Regions from separate parts of the Homo sapiens genome. Here region 1 is linked to region 2. The links are contacts of gene promoters, found by promoter capture Hi-C in blood cells and fetal thymus (Javierre and others, 2016). All regions are on one chromosome and are shown on one strand. The core of a region is centred on a gene start or on the middle of the fragment in contact, and the rest is flanking DNA. Distances in the headings are between cores, read along the strand shown.

Region 1 (2,984 bases), core at 327-2,826, 140 kb after region 2:
TTACGTTTAATGATCATAGCAGAATTAGCAGTAGGTACTATTATGCCATTTCCAGATGCAGAAGTCAACTGACTTGCCTTAGCTCAAAGAGTGAGTAAGAGGCAAACCTAGAACAGAAAAGCACATCTACCTGACTTTAAAAACTGCAGTTCTTGGCCAGGTGCAGTGGCTCAGGCTTGTAATTCCAGCACTTCGGAAGGCCAAGGCAGGTGGATCACTTGAGGTCAGGAGTTCGAGACCTGCCTGGCTAACATGGTGAAACCCCATCTCTACTAAAAATACAAAAATTAGTCAGGCATGGTGGCAGGCGCCTGTAGTCCCAGCTACAGGCTGAGGTGGGAGAACTGACTGAACCTGGGAGGTGGCGGTTGCAGTGAGCCAAGATCACACCACTGTACTCAAGCCTGGGCGACAGAGTGAGACTCCATCTTAAAAAACAAACAAACAGACAAAACTGCAGTTCTTTTCATAATGACGAACTACCTTACACTGAATGAAATCAGATTTGCTTCCTGGGGAGAAGGCAAAGGCAAAGGGGGGCGGGAAAGGACAGACATACCTTCTATGAGAGCAAAGGATTATCTGGCTGTATTCTGTCTTTAGCAGTCCTCACAGAGCCTAGGCAACCCTCAGAATCCCTGAACTGCCTTAAGCCCACCTTTTTTTTTTTTTTTTTTGGAGACGGAGTCTTGCTCTGTTGGCAGGATGGAGTACAGTGGCGCAATCTCGGCTCACTGCAACCTCTGCTTGCCGAGGTTCAAGAGATTCTCCTGCCTCAGCCTCCTGAGTAGCTGGGACTATAGGCACGCACCACCACGCCCAGCTAATTTCCGTATTTTTAAAAGAGATGGGGTTTCACCATGTTGGCCAGGATGGTCTTGATCTCTTGCTCTCGTGATCTGCCCGCCTCAGCTTCCCAAAGTGCTGGGATTACAGGTGTGAGCCACCGCACCCAGCCTTAAGCCCACTTTTAAATTCTTCCCTAGGCTAATCAGTAACCAGCAGAGGAACAGAAGGGGGAGGAAGTAGGAAAGATAGCCAAATCTGGATCTAGATCACTTCTTTACAGAGTTTGCACTATACAGAATAATTAATCCCTGCATAGTAAGTAGCAGAAAAGGTCTCTCGTATTTCTAATTTTCAAGGCAACAGCATAATTCCAGGGGTGAGGAATTAATGATTAAACCAAGAATAGAGTTTTTGTTTTTTTTTTTCCCCAACAGAGATGAGGTCTTGCTATCTTTGCCCAGGCTGGACTCAAACTTTCCAGCTCGGCTGGGCGCGGTGGCTCACGCCTGTAATCCCAGCACTTTGGGAGGCCAAGGCGGGCGGATCACGAGGTCAGGAGATCGAGACTATCCTGGCTAACACGGTGAAACCCCGTCTCTACTAAAAATACAAAAAATTAGCCGGGCGTGGTGGCGGGCGCCTGTAGTCCCAGCTACTCGGGAGGCTGAGGCAGGACAATGGCGTTAACCCAGGAGGCAGAGCTTGCAGTGAGCCGAGATTGTGCCACTGCACCCCAGCCTGGGCAACAGCACAAGACTGTCTCAAAAAAAAAAAAAAAAAAAAAACTTTCCAGCTTAAGCAATCCTTCTGCATCAGCCTCCCGAGTTGCTGGGACTACAGGCACGTGCCACTGTCCCTAGCTCAAGAAGGGAATTTTAACTCCGGATTTATAACATTTCCTTCTAACTAGATTTCGTTCTTTCAAAGTAGGAATTGAATCTCTAGTTCTCTTTGGAATTCCCCCTTTCTCAACAATGCTATGATTAAGGATGTTCATTAAAAAAAAAAAAAGGATATTCATATAGAGAGAGAATGGGAAAAAGCAGAAAGGGGAGGAAACAGGTCCAGAAACAGGTCAAGGGACCTCATGTAAGTACATTAATATAAGAACCTAAGAGAGGTCCTTATAGGACAGCTGTAGAGCACAGAGGTACATACAGGCAGACTCTGTAAGGCTCTTAGGTTGGAGAAGGGACACAGACTCACCGTTGTTTGGAGTGCCACATGGGGACAGAAAATAGCCAACTGCCGCACTGGCTCATTGTGAGTGTTGAAAAAGATAGTCATGGCAACCAGGACATCATAGCTGTGAGCCTGGCAGAAAGCATGGAGATCTGCAAGGAGGTTAGACCTCTGCAGAAAGGCCTGAAAGGGAAGAAACGGAGAGGGATGAAGGACTTTCTCATCATCATCAATAAAACATCCTTGGGCCGGGCACGGTCGCTTACGCCTATAATCCTAGCACTTTGGGAGGCCGAGGCAGGTGATCACTTGAGGTCAGGAGTTCGAGACCAGCCTAGCCAACATGGTGAAACCCTGTCTCTGGTAAAAATACAAAAATTAGCCGGGCATGGGGGCATATGCCTGTAATCCCAGCTACTCAGGAGGCTGAGGCAGGAGAATCGCTTGAACCAGGGAGGCGGAAGTTGCAGTGAGCTGAGATTGCGCCATTGCACTCCAGCCTGGGGGACAAGAGCGAAACTCCGTCTCAAAAAACAAAAACAAAACAAAACAAAACAAAAAATTAGCTGGGCATGCCGGCACGCACCAGTAATCCCAGCTACTAGGGAGGCTGAGGCAGGAGAATTACTTGAACCCGGGAGGCAGAGGTTGCAGTGAGCTGAGATCATGCCATTCCACTCCATCCTGGGCAACAGAATAAGACTCAGGCTCAAAACAAACAAACAAACAAACATACATACATAACTGCTAGAGGTTTTTTGAGCATAGGAGATAGTACTTCAGTTAGGGTGGTCAGGAAAAACCTCCCAAAACAAGAGACATCTGAGCTGAGTACCTGAATGTTAAGAAGGAGCCAGCTTTACAAAGAAAAAAGCTCAGCTGGGAATGAGCTTAATGGTTCTGAGGAACAGAAAAGAAACCAGTGTGGCTGCAGTACTGTAGAACAGGAGTGGAGCTGGAATGAGATGAGGCCAGAGAAAAAGACAAGGGCCAGATCAAGCATGGCGCTGTAA
Region 2 (2,700 bases), core at 112-2,611:
GCAGCAGGGTCTTGCCTAGAACACACTCTCCACTCTCTGATTACCTCAGCTTTGGTTTCTTCCCTTCTCAATTCATTCTGATGTTTTGGATTCTGCTTTCTTTCCTTTCCCGGCTGCTTCTTGCCATAGAAAAGCTGCAAGCCTGAGGAGAAAGGGAAACAGAATTAAAAGCATAGCACCAAGAGTGGTGTGCAGAGATTTCGAGGGTTTATTCCCCATCCCGTCTTCCCCCTAACTTACTGGACAGATGTTTCTTGCCTGCACGGTGGGCAGTCAGCATGGCCAGGGTGTCCAGTACCGGTCGATGGGGGCAGATGGCACAAGCAAAGCTGAGCAGGGGTAGAGAAGAGGATAAGTGGTCCAGGGGAAGAGGGTTGGGCCCGTCCCTGCCATAGGTCCCACCCTGTCCTAGCAGTCTTTGCAAAACCCAACTCCCTGGTGACCCAATCTCCACTTCTTCCAGTCCTCACTGGCCGCCAAAGAATCCTAGGTACTCCTGCTGTCCTAATTAATAACAAAAGTTTGTTGAAGCCAGGCGTGGTGGCATGCGCTTGTAAACCCAGCTAATCGCGACGCTGAGGAGGCAGGATCACTTGAGCCCTAGAGTTCGAGGGCAGCCTGGGCAGCACCGCGAGACCTCCGTCTCAAAGGAAAAAAAAAAAAAAGTCTATTGAGCCTCTAACCGCAGAACCCTCAGGCTTGAGCCACTCCTTGCTCTTACCGTCCATCCCGAAGCATCAGCGCCTCATCCTCTGGAATGTAACTGGCTAGGAGGTCCCCGACTCTTCTTTTCTGCAGGGAGTAGGGGAAGAAATCCGGACGGGATCAGCGGGATAGGAGAGAGGGGTGGAAGTGAAATTATAGAAATGAGGAGTGAAATGGAATAAGGACCCTGGGGAGAACAGCGATCATAGACCGAAAAAGGAGTCACTACACAGCTCTAAGTCGCCTGGTTCTCTCCTGCACCCCCGAGTTGTTGCCAGAGCAATGAAACAAAGCTCCTTCCCAACCTTCAGGGAGCGACTGAAGCGGCTCCAGATCCTCTCCGCTCACGCTTACTTTGAGCACATTGAGTTGACTCCAATCGTCTCCTTCCCTCTTGAAAGACATCACGACTGTGAGTCCCAGAAGTGATAAATTCTCTGTTCCGGTTTCGCCACTCCTCCAGGCCACCGTAGCAAGAGCGGGACAGCGCCTTCTCTTTTTTCCTTCTCTTCCTGTCGGCCTCCGTACTTCCGGGGACGCACTTCCACGCATGCATTGCGCGATCCGGAAATCCACTCTCTGGTGCTCGGAGGGAACTGCATTTCCTATGGTGCCCTGCGACTCCGCAGACGCGGAGCCTTTTGGGAAATGAAGTCTTTTCTCAAAGACCTTGCCGCTCAACTGGATCCAGGCCCTTGCATCTTGGCGGATCTGAGGCGTTTGGAGGGACAACAACCTAGATGTGGAGCCGAAATTTGAGGGTGTGACCTATCTTATGCGGAGCGGACCTTTGAGGATCTCTGAGTGGAAGGTGTACTACAAATTCTTGCAATCCTCACGCTCTTCGTCTGCGGCGACAGTTCACCTGGGGTGGGCCTGATTTGTTCCTGACTCTAGCAAACAAACCCCGGGACCGGGGAGAGCTGGGATGTTGGAGCGCCCTGAGGCCAGGCTACTTGGGGGCAAACTGAGGAAAGAGTGTTGAGGATTATTTCTAGAGTTCAAAGGTCAGAGGTCAATGTAGCGAGGAGTTGTGGGGGAGTCCAAAGTCGGAGGGGTGCTTAGGGGAGAATTAGGGAGGGACTGAATACTCAAGGGACAGATTTGTGGATAAGTAGCTTGGAGGGAGGAGAAACCGGGAGGGGGCAGATGGCGTAGTGCTGGGGAGGCGGGGACACAGGGGAAGAGAGAGGGGGAAAGGAATCCCCTGAATATTCATTCCCAGACTTCAGGCCTGTCAGTCGCAGTCTCGGTCGTACCTCCCCTAGTTGCAACCTTAGCTGTTGGCAGGGTGAAGAGATGGCTTCCCCGTCTAGACAGCCCCCGCCAGGGGGGTCAGGACTGCTTCAAGGGAGCCGGGCTCGTTCATATGGAAGCCTGGTGCAATCGGCCTGCTCCCCAGTGAGGGAAAGACGCCTGGAGCATCAGTTGGAGCCCGGAGACACCCTGGCTGGACTAGCACTCAAATATGGGGTGACGGTGAGTTTTCCAGGATTGGGGTGAAGACAACAGTCAGGAGGGATTTAGTCCTGAGAAGAATGTAGTGGCCCTTCTAGGTAACCTCCCCTGAAATGTTCCTAATGTGTTGCACTCTGTTCTGCCTTTATCTTTGTTTTCCCATCACAGTGTTGCACAAGTCCTGCCCTACTATTCCAACGGAGAGGAACAGCTCCTATTTTATTATGCCAGACACTGTGCTGAGGGCTTCACATACGTTAGCTCATTTCACCCTCACATCTGTATCAAGTATACATTTATCGTTCCCTTTTGGCAGATGAAGAAACTGAGACTTGGATTGGTTAACCAGTTTGGCTAAGGTCAAATAATGAGCGTCAGATTTGGGATTCAAACAGGTCTGTCTGACTCTATTAACCACACAGAAAATTTTATGTTGAGAGTGATTAAACGTTTACAGCAACTAATGGAGAGCTGATTTTTAGTTCTCAGTTCCTAAAGTGCCCACCTCTCCTTGCTCTTGGTTCCTCCTCAATGCTC

The links. Contacts are between HindIII fragments. The CHiCAGO score rates a contact against its expected background, and 5 or more counts as called.
Region 1: a fragment that was not itself captured here is called in contact with the fragment with the promoter of LYSMD1 in region 2 in 1 of 17 cell types (naive CD4 T cells); the score reaches 5.9 in naive CD4 T cells.

The regions. Positions count from the first base shown.
Region 1 is chr1:151,027,956-151,030,939 of GRCh38, reverse strand. PRUNE1 (prune exopolyphosphatase 1) reads right to left here. Exons shown (of 8, transcript NM_021222.3): 7 at 1,996-2,154. Among named protein-coding and RNA genes, the nearest start is that of BNIPL, 7.1 kb to the left of the region's middle. The HindIII fragment of the contact is 8,691 bases long and covers 1-2,984 here.
Region 2 is chr1:151,164,563-151,167,262 of GRCh38, reverse strand. It overlaps LYSMD1 (LysM domain containing 1), which reads left to right and starts at 1,361. Exons shown (of 3, transcript NM_212551.5): 1 at 1,361-2,184. The coding sequence starts at 2,005. TNFAIP8L2-SCNM1 (TNFAIP8L2-SCNM1 readthrough) reads right to left here. Exons shown (of 7, transcript NR_144937.2): 2 at 722-792; 3 at 241-329; 4 at 45-142. It overlaps SCNM1 (sodium channel modifier 1), which reads right to left and starts at 1,119. Exons shown (of 7, transcript NM_024041.4): 1 at 1,060-1,119; 2 at 722-792; 3 at 241-329; 4 at 45-142. The coding sequence starts at 1,110. RefSeq lists enhancers at 1,071-1,120, 467-1,173, 1,141-1,420, 1,174-1,879. The HindIII fragment of the contact is 8,952 bases long and covers 1-2,700 here.